3 separate regions of the Homo sapiens genome follow, and regions 1 and 2 are each linked to region 3. The links are contacts of gene promoters, found by promoter capture Hi-C in blood cells and fetal thymus (Javierre and others, 2016). All regions are on one chromosome and are shown on one strand. Each heading gives the region's core, a stretch centred on a gene start or on the middle of the fragment in contact. The rest is flanking DNA. Distances are from core to core; before and after follow the strand shown.

Region 1 (4,791 bases), core at 1,305-3,804, 230 kb after region 3:
CTAATGAGTGGCAAAGCCTGATCTGAACCCACGTATATCTAATTTCAAAGCTTAGTCTTTTCTCCGTGCACCTCACTTACCTCCTTAGAGTTGCTTCTGCTGCTGACAAATGTTGCTGACATGTGGATTGAATTGCCATAGAACTTGTGGACTACCAAGATGTCATCCAAAGCTAAAAGTAGGAAGCAGGCAGTAGGCTAATTTTTATAAGCAAAGGGTTAAATAGTGCTCTCTCTGTGTTTTGTGACATGATAAGACTTAGGAAAACCATCCTTTTTTTACAGTTGCACTGGAATTTTGTGTTACAGTAGCAAGGGAAACAGCCAGGTACATGGGTCTGTGAGGTCTGGGTCACTGGAAAGTGGAGTAGTTCCCTTGGTCCAGATTTCCCCTAAACCTCCATCTTGTCTTTGCCTACAAACCCTCTGTTGGCCAAGCGGCATTTTGTATTCCTGGCCTCTGACTCCCAAATGACCATGGAGAAAACAACTCTGAATTTGAGCTGCATGAAACATGCCACTGTGGATGTGGCTCACACCTGTAATCCCTGCACTTTGGGAGGCTGAAGCAGGAGGATCCCTTGAGCCCAAGGAGTTTGGGGCTACAGTGAGCTATGAACACGCCACTGCACTCCAAAGAAAGAAAGATACATGGCACTGTGCTTCCCCTGTGCTGCCAGGAAGTCCCCACGTTAGCCTCCCTCCCACACCTGGCAGGCTGTCATATTTCCTTGTGGATGGGATCTCCATCCTCCATAGGGATTACTCATGGGGGACAGATGGCCTGGCCAGTTCAAGGAGAAGTTATGTCTTGTGCCACTGTGTTGAGCAGCATGCCTGCCCTTTTTGGAAATAAATTATGGTCCCCAAATTGCCTTGGCTGAACTGTATGAGAGTCACAAAGCCTGTTTTCTCGCTTCGGCCCCACCATAAAGTCACTTTATGGCTTTGGGGCTTGGGTTTCCCTCTGCGCAATGTGGATGATGATAATGCACCACCACTGCAGGGGTGTAGTAAGGGTTAAATGAGAGGTGACAATATTTTTTTAAGAAAAAAAAATTGCCTTGACTGATTTTATTGCTCTGTTAGTTCATGGTACAATATCCCTAAATTTACACTCAGAGTAACTTTAGTTTCTGTTAGGACTTAGAAAATAGGACAAATTCTCTTCCATGGGCTGTTTGAGACCATTGCAAAGGCATGGCTCAGATACCACTTTATCTCAGAATTGGTGGCCTCTACCCTGTGAGTGAGATGTTGAGACAGGAAATCCAGCAAAATTCTATGCCTGTTTTCAGAGCAATTTTGTTTCTGGCCTTTGCTCTGGAGTCAGGTGGGGAGGCCAGATTACTGAGGACCCCATGTTAGCTTTCCTGCCAGAGAGACATCCTTGGAGGGAGGCTGGGGTGATGTGTCCAAGAAGAGATTGGAAGTATTCTCCAATACCAGTTCAGTGGTGAATTCTCAAAATGTATTCAGCACAACCACATGAACCATATGTTCTGAACAACTGACTTAATATAGAAGAATTAAAGAGTCAGTTTCAACTGGGTGCAGTGGCTGACGCCTGTAATCCCAGCACTTTGGGAGGCTGAGACAGGCAGATCACCTGAAGACAAGAGTTCAAGACCAGCCTGGCCAACATGGTGAAACCCTGTCTCTACTAAAAATATAAGAATTAGCTGGGTATGGTGACGGCCACCTGTAATCCCAGCTATTCAGGAGGCTGAGGCAGAAAATTGCTTGAACCCAGGAGGCGGAGGTTGCCTTGAGCCAAGATTGTACCACTGCACTCCAGCCTGGGCAACAGAGCAAGACTCCGTCTCAAAAAAAAGAGTCAGTGTCAGTTTCTTAAAGGTCATTGAAAAACAATAGTTTAAGCTTCTTAGAAAATGTCTTTCAAAAAGCAACCCTCTGGCCAGGCATGGGGGCCCATGCCTTTAATCCCAGCACTTTGGGAGGCCAAGGCTTGAGACCAGCCTAGGCAACATAGCGAGACCCTGTTCCTAAAAGTGCACACACACACACAGAGCAAGCCTCCCCGCCATTCTTTTTTTCCATTAAGTATTTTTCTTCCTTCTGAGGGTCTTTGAAATAGTGGGAGTCTCTCTGGCTCAGGGAGTTTGTTGAGCTCCATCAGTCTGTCAGGCCCACCCTCTTTTCCGGGATGTTCTAAGACCCTGGACTGGGCTCTTGAGCACCCTCTGCTGTAGATGCTTAGTCCCTGGTGCACTACCTCTACTTCCAGGTACAGGCTGAGTGCTCCTGGCTCCACATGAGCTTTGTTGTTTTGTCTATGAGACAGGGTCGCACTCTATCACCTATGCTGGAGTGCAGTGGTCCAAACACGGCTCACTGCGGCCTCAACCTCCCAGGCTCAAGCAGTCCTCCTGTCTCAGTCTTCCAAGTAGCTGGGTCCACAAGTGTGCGCCTGGCTAATTTTTAAAATATTTTTTGTAGAGATGGGGTCTCACCATGTTGCCCATGCTGGTCTCAAACTCCTGGCCTCAAGCATTTCTCCTGCCTCTCGAAGTGTCGGGATAATAGGTGTGAGCCACTGCACCTGGCCACACATGAGTTTTTGAGCAATAGGAAATATATATACATATATGTATAAACATGTATACACACACACATACATAAAACTAAAACTGTGTATCTCAGATTTTCCATCTAAAACTGGTCTGGACTAGGGATCTATCATCAAGAAAGGAGAGAAGCCAGGCATGGTGGCACCTGCCTGTAGCTGAAGGGGGAGGATTGCCTGAGCCCAGGAGCTCAAGACTAGCCTGGGCAACAGAGTGAGACCCTGTCTCTGAAACAAAACAAAACAACAAAACAGAATAGAATGAGTCAGGTACTTCCCTAGGTCTCCAGCTACCAAACTTGGTCTCTCTTGCTTCCTTAGCCATTTCCACAGAGCATCTTGCCTGCAGTTCCATTTCAGAAAACCTAGTGCTACAGCCCCTGAACTAGACTGGAGAAACCAGCCAGCAAGGAAAGTAACCTGCATTGTTGAGGGATGGTACTACTCTATTCCTGGTGTCTGGGAATTGCTGGGTCGTGGGAGAGAGGTAAGGGGTGGTAGATAAGGGAATGGAGGGCTCTTGTGTCTCTGGTTTTCTAAACAACAGGATAAATTTGTTCCCTTCAGAACAGGAAAAGGGTTCAGGATAAGAGTCTTACGTTTAAGTTTTGAAGCTACAAGAAATATTTGTGTGGGTATAGTTAAAGCTTTTTTTAAACCTTCTGAAAATTGGCTCTTCTGGTTTGGTGAGCTTAGGAAGGAAAAAAGATGCAAACTTTTGGCCTCATTTTTGTCTTCTCTGATCATGGAAAGCAACACAGCCAGTCAGAAAAAGCTCTTGGGCTAGGAGGAAGGAGGACCTGATTTCTCGGACTCAAAATCCCTTATGGCAGAAAAACATTGCTCAGTGACTTACAAAGTGTGTCATTTGTAAGACTGCACACCTCTGTCATTCACTAACATTAGGATGATAAACCATTTCATCTTACAAGCTGATGTGGTGAAAGTACCTGTTAATTGGTTTTATAGTCTCTTATCTGTAAAACATAAATAATTGTTTTTGGGTGTTTTGGGTTTTTTTTTTTTTTAAGATTTAAGTTCCTTGAGTCTCCGTCTCCTCCTCTGTTAAGTAAAGCAAATGCTTACCTCTCAGGATTGTTGAAAGGATTAAGTGAAGTAACAAATGTAAAAATACCTTGTGGAATGATTGCCACTTAGCAGCCACTCAAAAAATATTTGCCAAACCTCTGTTGTAGAGATGTTGAAAATCAAATGAGGTTAATTACTGTGAATGTGTAACAAAAAGTAAAGCACCACATAAATGCAAGATAATATCATTACTCAGACCAACCTGAGCAACATAGTGAGACCCTGTCTCAATTTAAAAAAAAAAAAAAAAAAGGTAATATCATTACTCATAAGCCAGGAAGTGTGGGAGTGGGTAGGAATGGAGAAGCCTGCCTTTTGATCCTGGCCAGACCATCACGAAGGCCTTTTTACCTGATACAAGTAGAGAACAAATAAGGGGAGACACTGGCTGGGGGAACAGGGCAACAGAGAGAGATGCACAGGTATATTCAGTTACCTTTCCCTGGTCCCCACCCTCAAAATACTGCTTGGACCCAAAACTAAAGAGGACTAAGCTGATGTATTGAGCTGATGGGAGGAAATGGCATTAGTGCTCTAGAGGAAGAGAGAAGGTGACATTATGAAGGAGTAATTATATATAAGAATTTTTTTAAAAGCTAGTCTGATTGCCAGCTAAAATGGTCTCCTAGGGGTTATTCTGGTTTCTGTTTTGTGTCAAGGTTTTTTTGGTCGGATATGCCGTAGTGCCTGCTCCATCTCTGGAGTTTGTTTCCTATTAGGAAGGGACTTTGTTTGCCTGAGGGAGCTGGCACATGCTGGACGTTGGTGCCATGACCCATCTGAGTCACATTCCTGACCTCTAGGGCCTAATAGTTGGCCCCATGCCTGCTCCTCTTGGGCCACACACCCTGGGCTCTGTTGTTGAAAGCCTCCTTTATGTGCTCTAGGCTCCCAGAACCCTGGCCGAAGCTCACCTCCCCCTGGCTATGTTCCTGAGCGGCAGCAGCACATTGCCCGGCAGGGGTCCTACACCAGCATCAACAGTGAGGGGGAGTTCATCCCAGAGACCAGCGAGCAGTGCGTGAGTATAGGGGGGCTGGGATATGCCTGTGGCCTGTATCAGCAGACCAAGCTCATAACAAGGGGTTCTTAGTAGTCACAGTGCAGAACTGAGGG
Region 2 (4,651 bases), core at 1,990-4,489, 130 kb after region 3:
AGAGTCCAGAAATAGATGAATAAATACATGGTCAACTGATTTTCAATAAAGGGGTCAAGGTAATGCAAAGGAGAAAGAATTCTCAACCAATGATGCTGGAAGAGTCAGACGTTCATATGTAAAAAAGCAAACCTTGTTCGGGAGCTGTAGCTCACGCCTGTAATCCTAGCACTTTGGGAGGCCGAGGCGTGTGGATCACCTGAGGTCAAGAGTTCGAGACTAGACTGGCCAAAATGGTGAAGACCCTTCTCTACTAAAAATATTAAAAAATTAGCCGGGCGTAGTGGCACATGCCTGTAGTCCCAGCTACTTAGGAGGCAGAGAGGTAGGAGAATTGCTTGAACCAAGGAGGTGGAGGTTGCCGTAAGCCAAGACTGTGCCCATTGCACTCCAGCCTGGGTGACAAGAGCAAAACTCCGTCTCAAAAGGAAAAACAACAACAAAAAGCAAACCTTGATTCATATCTTGTACCATATAAAAATTTAACTTGAAATGACTCAGAGACCTAAATATGAAGCCTAAAACTAGAAAACTTTTAGAAGAAAACAGGGAAAAATATTTGGGACCTGGGATTAGGCAAAGATTTCTCAACTAGGACATAAAAAATTTTTTGGGTGCGGTGCTTACGCCTGTAATCCCAGCACTTTGGGAGGCCAAGCCAGGAGGATCACTTGAGCCCAGAAGTTCGAGGCCAGCCTGGGCAACATAAGGAGACCCCATCTCTACAAAAAATTTAGAAATTAGCTGGGTGTGGTGGCACATGCCTGTGGTCCCAGCTACTCAGGAGGCTGAAGCTGGAGGATTGCTTAAGCCCAGGAGGTTGAGCCTGCAGTGAACCACGATTGCACCACTGCACTCGAACCAGTGCAACAGAGTGAGACCCTATCTCAACAACCCAAAATTATACTGCCACATTGCACATAATGCAATATTATTCAGCAGTAAGAAAAGAAGCAACTACTGATACACACAAGAACATGGATGAATCTCAAGAGCAGTGTACTGATGAAAGTAGCCAGACACAAAGACTCAAGACCATCTGATTCTATTTATATCGTATTATGGAGAGACAAAACCATAGATCAGTGGCTACTTGGGGTAGGTATGAGGGGTTGACTGCGGAGGAGCCTGGGAGAGCTTTCTGGGTTAATGGAAATGTTTTATATCTTACTGTGGGGGTTATACAACTGTACATTTGCCAAAACTCATTTAACTGTACACTTGAGTGGGTTTTATTATATGCAACTATACCTAACTTTGGGGGGAAAATGTCTGGAAGATACTGGTGTGTCTGAGACTGAGGTCAGAAAGATGAGTAGAAGGAATTTTATTTTGTGTTGTCTGGTTAGTGCTTTTCCCCTTATTGTGGATGTTTACCAAATATCCCCACTATTCCATCTTCCAGTTGGAAGTTCATAAGCAAATGTACAGTTAGTGTCCCATTGAGCCAGATTGAGTTTGACAGCAAAGATTGGAAGTTAATGGTGGGCTAAAATTGACTCTAAGAAAAAGTGATCAGAGCTAGGTGGGACTTTCTCATCAATGGCGCCGACTTTTTTTTTGCCAGTCACAGTGGTTTGGGCTCTCAAACGGTCATTTGACATACCTTTATGTGTAAACATAATGAGCCAGTGTTGAGTTTGGGGTTGGTGAGGGTTGTGCACTATTGGATTTTTAAGTGAGCATTAGTTTGTTTAATGAAATTGCAAAGGGTGTTTCATATTCCTGGCCCCTGAGCACCAAATGTCCTCAGCACTTCAGTCATTGTGGCAGCCAAGAACCACCCCTGGTCATTTTCAAATACCTTAGGGGTTTCAGGGGAAGGTGTGCCTGGCCTGGCAGATAGTGCACTTATGTAGTTGGAGTCAAGAATGCAGACTTGAGTCAGAAAACCTGTAATCTCTGTCTCCTACTGGCTTTGCAGTGTTGAGTGTAACCACCCCTTTGAGTCTGGGTGTCCTTGTCTGCCAGAGGATGGTTGGACTAGATACCCTCTCATGGCAATCGTTTTTGATTCTGCAGTTTAGTGTAGTACAGTGTCAAGACTTCTGTCACTGGCCAGGCATAGTGACTCATGTCTGTAATCCCAGCACTTTTGGGAGGCTGAGGTGGGAGGATCAGTTGAGCCCAGGAGTTCAAGGCCAGCCTGGGCAACATGTGAGGCCTTGTCTCTACAAAAAATGAACAAAATTAGCTGTGTCTGGTGGTGCATGCCTCTAACCCCAGCTACTTGAGAGGCTGAGGTGGAAGGATCACTTGAGACCAGGAGGTGGAGGCTGCACTGAGCTGTGGTTGCACCACTGCACTCCAGCCTGGGCAACAGAGCAAGATCCTGTCTTTAAAACAAAAAACAAACAAAAAAAACCTCTGTCACTGACCAGGGATCTAATGTATTTGCTGTACTGCTCACAAATGCTTATGTGGCTCAACTTTGGTATGTTACAGGTTCAGCTTGTTGGTTTAGATGAGGAGAGTTCAGAGTTTATTTGCAGAAACACCTTTGACCACCCATACCCCACCACAAAGCTCATGTGGATCCCTGACACAAAAGGCGTCTATCCAGACCTACTGGCAACAAGCGGTGACTATCTCCGTGTGTGGAGGGTAAGCGGATGCTTTATTAGCAGCCAGACAAGTGGGCTTTCTCAGCCTCAGCTGTTAGCAGTGAAAAGTCACAGAACAGACAGGGGTCAGAGGCAGCGAGTGTCATTGCAGCACAGGAGAAGCAAGCGAAGCTTAAATGGACTGGCCTCGTTTGGCTCAGCAGATTTTCTAGTATATCAAGTCAAGATTCCATGAAGTCTGGCTGCTGGCTGCAGTCAGCTCAGTCAACCCGAGGTGATGATGACGGCCTTCAGTGGAGGTGGGAATACTTGGGAACTCATATTCTGTTTGCAGCCAAGGTATTTTTGAGTAAACTAAATGAAATACCAGGCCATTGATTCTGATAAAGTGTGTGAGTGGATCTTGGAGGCTTCCCTCCACCCTCAGCTGAGCTCATCAGCAGCAGCGTCCTCTGTAGCATGGGCGTGGCCTTAGTACACCTGTGCAGAGGTTCCAGGCTGGGCAAAGTGAGAAGACCTCTCCTCTAGGAAGGTGCAGGGATGAAAATGTAGAAAACAAAGCTGGGCAGAGGAGAAAGTATGGGAAAAAGTAGCATTCAGGGAGTCCTGGGTTTATTACTGTTTTTGATAAAAATGTTTTCCCCTCATGTCTTATGTTTGCTAAGATATTTTCTAAACAGGGATTTTTTAAAAGACTTTTTATGAGGATAAGACTGGCTGATTTTTTTTAAAATTCTTGTTCCTTCAGGTTGGTGAAACAGAGACCAGGCTGGAGTGTTTGCTAAACAATAATAAGAACTCTGATTTCTGTGCTCCCCTGACCTCCTTTGACTGGAATGAGGTGGATCCTTATCTTTTAGGTAAGGGAGTTAGGGAGTATGTATTTCAGCTGGAAGAAGCCAAAATAAATTTTCTCAGATGTCACACTGGGCCATACATCCTAGAACAAGGCTCAGTGGGAAGTAGGCTAGGCGTGGAATGTGGTTATTTATTAATTCCTTTGTGTGGGTGAGCTTTCCGTGTGTATAGATCTTGTCTCTCCAGTTAGAATCTAAGGTCCTACGGTGAGGACTGAAGACTTGACTGCCTCGGTGGCTCTGCCGGTAGCCCCCACCTTGTTTTCTGTAGTCTTTATGGTATGCTGCTCCCTGGGCTGAGCAGATGAGTAAACACAAGAGGGAAGCTTGCATGAGAACCTTGGTCCCGTCAGCCCTGACTTGCACTGGTTGTTTGCAGGTACCTCAAGCATTGATACGACATGCACCATCTGGGGGCTGGAGACAGGGCAGGTGTTAGGGCGAGTGAATCTCGTGTCTGGCCACGTGAAGACCCAGCTGATCGCCCATGACAAAGAGGTAAGATGCTTTTCCATTTCGTCTTTCCTCAAATGCTTCCTGTGCCTTCCGCACAGGAAGAGGTCAGCTTGTTCTCTCATTGTTCTGCAATTTATGTAGAAAATCATAACATAACATCTTCTTGTCTAAATTGACAATAGTAATGTATCAAAAACGGGAAAACAACACTATTGTAAACTAATGCTTTTTTTTGGCTAATGTAAATGACCTATTCTACGGTCTGTCATTGTTCTTTTCATGCCAGAGGTTGCTTTTTTTAAATAACAAAGTCTCTTATAGAGGAGCTGGGAACTGATGTGATTAAAAAATAACTTTAGAGTAATACTTATCTTGAAACAGATTAGATTTGGGGAGGAAAGAAGGGAGACAGGAAGAGAAAAAATTTTCTGAGAGACAAACGTAATTATTCATTTTTCTCTATAAATGTTTTACCAAATCCTAGTATGTTCACTTAATCTTTATACTTTCATTACTGTTGGCAGTGGAGGCAATGGAATATATTTTATTTTGATGGCGATGCTTCTGTGTTTATTGGGAAAACTGAGAAGAGCTATTTGTGATTGCTTTTTTTTTTTTTTTTTTTTTTTTTTTTGAGACAAAGTTTTCCTCTTGTTGCCCAGGCTGGAGTGCAATGGCGCAATCTGGGCTCACTGCATCCTCTGCCTTCTGGGTTCAAGCAATTCTCCTGCCTCAGCTTCCGGAGTAGCTGAGATTACAGGTGCCCGCAACCAC
Region 3 (4,835 bases), core at 258-2,757:
TGCCATCTAATGCCACTGAACCATCCCAGTATTAGCAGGAGCCCAAGCTCTGCCTGCCAAGGAAAAGTGGTGAGGGCAGAAAAGTAGTAGGACAAGGCTGGGCACGGTGGCTCACGTCTGTAATCCTAGCACTTTGGGATGCCAAGGCGGGCAGATCACTTGAGGTTAGGAGTTCGAGACCAGCCTGGCCAACATGGTGAAACCCCGTCTCTCCTAAAAATGCAAAAATTAGCTGCGTGTTGTGGCACACACCTGTAATCCCAGCTACTAGGGAGGCTGGAACAGGAGAATCGCTTGAACCCGGAAGATGGAGGTTGCAGTGAGCTGATATTGCCCTCTGCACTCCAGCCTCCTGGCAACAGAGCAAGACTCCATCTCAAAAAAAAAAGAAGGAAGGAAAGTAAGGAAAGCAAGAAAGCAATAAAGCAAGAAAGAAAAGGAGTGGGACAAGCAGGGTGGTTCCACCTCCAGCTCTAGGAGGCTCCCTCATGCAAGGAGGTGGGGCTGCCACCGCCTCGTATTTTCCTGCCTCCATCAAATTTCACCGGGAGAAATCCAGGCACCTAGAGGAGGTGGCAAAGCTTTTTTTTTTTTTTTTTCATTAGCTATTAAACCAAAGGGGCAGAATCTAGGCGCCCTAGATGTAACTTCATTTACGGAGTCAGAAAATCCACAAAGGCTGCCAAGGTGGAATGAATGAGAGGAGGACGACCAGAAAGGAGAAGTCTGGGAAGGGGACCCCAGATCCACACGGATGATCCTCGCTCCGTGATACAGTCGGGGACAGGGCAGGGAGGGAGGGAGGGAGGGTGGCCCTGCCATCTCCCAGGTGTCAAGGTGGCGGCAGCTCCGCCCTCAGCGCAGTTGGCACCGGCCTGACCCACCACAGGGCCACCGAGGCCACCGAAGCCATGGGGCTTTCCCACTCGGGAAACTCCCACCCTCGCGCTCAGAAGCTGGGGGCGTCGGGAGACACAGGCGGGGACCTGCGGCTCCACGTTGCAGCCCGGGCCCTGCTCGGGGCAAGAGGCGGTGGCTCCGGTTTCAGATTTCAAGAGGGCAGCCGTGGCAAAGGCTGGTTGGTCCATTTGCACCCTACCTTGCTCTAGAACGCGGCGCAGGAGCAAAGATCCAAACTCGGGGTCACCAGCAAGCGGGGGTCTCGGTTCTAACTTCAGCAGAGACCCGGCACCCGGGCAGGCCAGGGCAGGGGCCGCCTGGACCGGGAGAGGCTCGGCTCCGAGAGGGCGGGCGAGCCCTGCAGCCCTCGGGCCCAGGGTGCGGGTCGGCGCCGCAGTCCAGTGCGCGGCCGCAAGGGGCAGGTGCGAGGCCGGCTGCTACTCGGGAGCCCCGCGCTGTCCCTCCCTGCGCAGTCAGGGCTCACCTGGGCCGCCCCCGCCCCGCACCCCTGCGCGCTCCGCTCCCACCCCCAGCCCGGCCTCCTACCTTGCCTACCCGAGCGTCCCTTCAGCCTCCCCGCGCCGCGCCCGGGTCGCTTGGCCGGTTCTGCGGGCCGTGGCGCGACGGCGTCGCCATGGCAACCGGGCGGCGGGCTGGGCGGTGTCTCCGGGACCGGAAGTGGCGTACGCGGCCCCCGGGGCTGCCCCGCACGTGCCAGGTCCCCGCGGTTGCGGCCACGCTCGGGACCGGGCCCTGCCAGCTCCGGGCCCGCACGTGGGCGAACCGCGGCCACCGTGAGCCCGGCCTCGCGACCTCCCTCCGGGGCCCCCATGATCGGGGGTGCGTGGGATCTGCGGCCTGCGGGGGTGGAGGGCCGGGAGCTCCCCCGGGCCTGCCTCGAGGGCCGCGGGATTCGTCCTTGCGAGCCCCGACTGCGCACGGAAGGACCTGGGGTCGGCCAGGCCTGGGGGATGGGACGGGCCCCGAGGAGAGCGGGTGCCAGGGGCGAGACCCGCCGCCCTTCCCCGGCTTGGTCCCGCGCTTCCTGATTTTCTCGCTCCACGCCTCCCATTCTGCCCTCCACCTTCTTCCCTGCCCCGCCCTCGCCCTGCCCGGGCCCAGGAGGCCACTAGATGTCAGACCCGGTTCGGGCCTTGGCCACGCCGCCGCTCCGGGAGCCCTGGGGGCACCTCCCCAGCCCCCACGGGGGAGACGATACTGCCGGGAAGGCCCGGACTAGCCCCCGCCCCCGCAGAGTAGCCTTCGGGGAACACCGATTCCACCAGGCTCTCACGAAAGCCGAGAGCTTGCCGTCCGCAGCTTCCCCTGCCCAAAGCGCAGAGAAACGAGGGCGCCGAGGCCAAGACCAAGACCGGGAGCCAGCCCCTTCGGAGCCCGGTCCAGGCCCCCGGTCCAGGAAGTGCTGTGGGTAGATAAGGGGCCCAGCTCAGACTTCCTACAAGCTGGGAAGAAAGGGTTCTTTCCTGTCTGATGCCGGGCCAGATGTAGCAAGCGCCTAGGGGTAGGAGGGAAATGGGGTTTCCTCCCCGCAGAGGGAAACCGGCCTCCATTCAGGAACGCCCTCCCCCACCTGCCCTCCAGGCACCGAGGTTCTGGGAGGCCGGGGGGCAGGGAGACCTGCTTACTTGAATGCGCTTTGTGTATTGCCTGTGTATTGCCACAGGCAGTGGGCAAGATAGGCCCTGGGGATCCAGTACTCGCTTAGTACACAGAGAGCAGTCTCCAGCGCCAGGCGAGACGCACAGGCGTGTCAGCTGCATATGGCACACGGTGGCACATGGCACACCTTCCACGAGCAGACACAAGGGGCCGACACAGCAGGGCCCACCCCCTCAGAGGGACCAAGCTTAAACCCTCCAACAACAGAAAATTTGTAGAGTATCTTTCAGTTGGAGGAAATTAATGGATAATTTAAAGTAAGAAACAGTTTCCTTAGCGTGCTAACAGGCAGAATCCCTGTGGATTGAAGGTGGAACTGAGCCATGTCCTTTGTTTGGTCTGTGGATTTAGACGTGGAGGAGGAGTCCTGACCGGCTGAGCAGGGCTGAGTTCCCTCGTGAGAGCCCCGGGCCTTCAGCCCCTTCCAAAGCCAGGAGAGACTCCTGCTGAGGGGTGATAGGGGCCCTTTGGCTTCCCCCTCACCCCACGGCCCAGCAGCACGGGGCTGCAGGCTTTTCCCTTAGGAGGAAGAGCAGCCGCCTCCCTGCCAGCAGTGTTCTCAAGGGCCTGCTTCAAGTGGGGAGGGGTGGGTGAGGGTGTTCTGACTGAGGGAGAGGCCTGCACACCCGCTGCATGGGGGGGCTCATGGCTACACCTAACCCATTTTAAAGAACAGGCAACGCCACCAAACTGCTCTCTGGCACTAGGGCCCAGAGGCCTTGCCCCAGCTCCCAGATGTCCCAACCCAGGACGACAGACACCCAGACTAACTACCTTGCAACCCTGTTCCTGCTGCCGAAGCTCCTGCCTTGGAAGCCTGAGAAGTGTGCAGTCCTTCAGCTTGGGAAAGGTGGGAAAGGAGAGGACCCCTCCTGCCCTTTCTTGAGTGGCACAAGATGAGTTCCAGGGCCTCCTGAGTTGTGCTAACGCCTGTAATCCCAGCACTTTGGGAGGCCGAGGCGGGCGGATCACCTGAGATCGGGAGCTAGAGACCAGCCTGACCAACGTGGAGAAACCCCATCTCTACTAAAAATACAAAATTAGCCGGGCGGGGTGGCACATGCCTGTAATCCCAGCTACTCCGGAGGCTGAGGCAAGAGAATCACTTGAACCCAGGAGGCAGAGGTTGTGGTGAGCCAAGACCGCGCCATTACACTCCAGCCTGGACAACAAGAGCAAAACTCCGTCTCAAAAAAAAAAAAAAAAAAAAAAGGAAATGCTGACTGTGTTTCCATGTTTCCACTCCCTTCCCACATCGCAGAACCACGCTAGCCTTTCTGTTTTCAGATGCACCAAGTTCACTCCCACCTCTCCATGGAATGTTCTTTCCTGGATCATCTCTGGTCACATTCTCTCAAATCTCAGCTCAAACATCACCTCCTCAGGCCTTCCCTGACCATCCAGAGGGCAGCTGGGGCAGGGATTAGGAGGTAGGAGTGCTCCTGGATTCCGCGTGCTGGGCAGCCAGGCCTAGAGTGCCCCCTGGTCTCTGACAGAAAGCATTTAAGGAGGAGGAAGCATCAAGGAAGCAGGCAGAATGTGAATAGAGAGCTGGAGACTCAGGCCGTAGACCCACCTGGCACCTGGCTAGTCACTTCTCCCTTGCTAGGGTTACCAGATTCAGAAAGAAGAGGAAAAAATAAAAAAAGGCTTCCCAGTTAAATTCAAATTCAGGCCGGGTGCGGTGGCTCACACCTGTAATCCCAGCACTTTGGGATGCCGAGGTGGGTGGATCACCTGAGGTCAAGAGTTCGAGACCAGCCTGACCAACAAGGTGAAACCCCGTCTCTACTAAAAATACAAAAATTAGCTGGGCAAGGTGGCAGGCACCTGTAATCCCAGCTACTTGGGAGGCTGAGACAGGAGAATTGCTTGAACCCAGGAGGCGGAGGTTGCAGTGAGCCAAGATTGTGCCACTGCACTCCAGCCTGGGCAATGGAGTGAGACTCCATCTCAAAAAAAGAAAACCAAAAAAAAATTCAAATTCAGTTAGTTTTTTCAGCATGAGCATGTCCCAAATATTACATGCAGTATACTAAAGATGTATTCCAGCTGGGTGCCATGGCTCATGCCTGTAATCCCAGCACTTTGGGAGGCTGAGGTGAGCGGATCACTTGAGGTCAGGAGTCCAAGACCAGCCTGCCAATGAGGCAAAACCCTGTCTCTACTAAAAACACAACAATTAGCCAGGCATGGTGGTGGATGCCTGTAATCCCAGCTACTGGGGAGGCTACGACAGGAGAATGGCATGAACC

Evidence for each region. The method cuts DNA at HindIII sites, captures the fragments that hold promoters and counts their contacts. A CHiCAGO score of 5 or more calls a contact.
Region 1: a contact is called between a fragment that was not itself captured here and the fragment with the promoter of CYB561 in region 3, in 4 of 17 cell types (M0 macrophages, naive CD4 T cells, endothelial precursors and 1 more). The highest score is 6.1, in M0 macrophages.
Region 2: a contact is called between a fragment that was not itself captured here and the fragment with the promoter of CYB561 in region 3, in 3 of 17 cell types (M0 macrophages, endothelial precursors and M1 macrophages). The highest score is 8.0, in M0 macrophages.

Annotation. Positions count from the first base shown.
Region 1 is chr17:63,677,204-63,681,994 of GRCh38, forward strand. MAP3K3 (mitogen-activated protein kinase kinase kinase 3) reads left to right here. Exons shown (of 16, transcript NM_002401.5): 7 at 4,563-4,696. Among named protein-coding and RNA genes, the nearest start is that of LIMD2, 21 kb to the right of the region's middle. RefSeq lists an enhancer at 1-527. The HindIII fragment of the contact is 1,353 bases long and covers 1,879-3,231 here.
Region 2 is chr17:63,576,025-63,580,675 of GRCh38, forward strand. It overlaps DCAF7 (DDB1 and CUL4 associated factor 7), which reads left to right. Exons shown (of 7, transcript NM_005828.5): 2 at 2,446-2,604; 3 at 3,313-3,424; 4 at 3,801-3,919. Among named protein-coding and RNA genes, the nearest start is that of TACO1, 23 kb to the right of the region's middle. The HindIII fragment of the contact is 1,012 bases long and covers 2,734-3,745 here.
Region 3 is chr17:63,444,799-63,449,633 of GRCh38, forward strand. It overlaps CYB561 (cytochrome b561), which reads right to left and starts at 1,508. Exons shown (of 6, transcript NM_001915.4): 1 at 1,447-1,508. RefSeq lists silencers at 1,205-1,764, 1,935-2,124 and enhancers at 2,094-2,907, 2,265-2,404, 2,908-3,720. The HindIII fragment of the contact is 2,186 bases long and covers 580-2,765 here.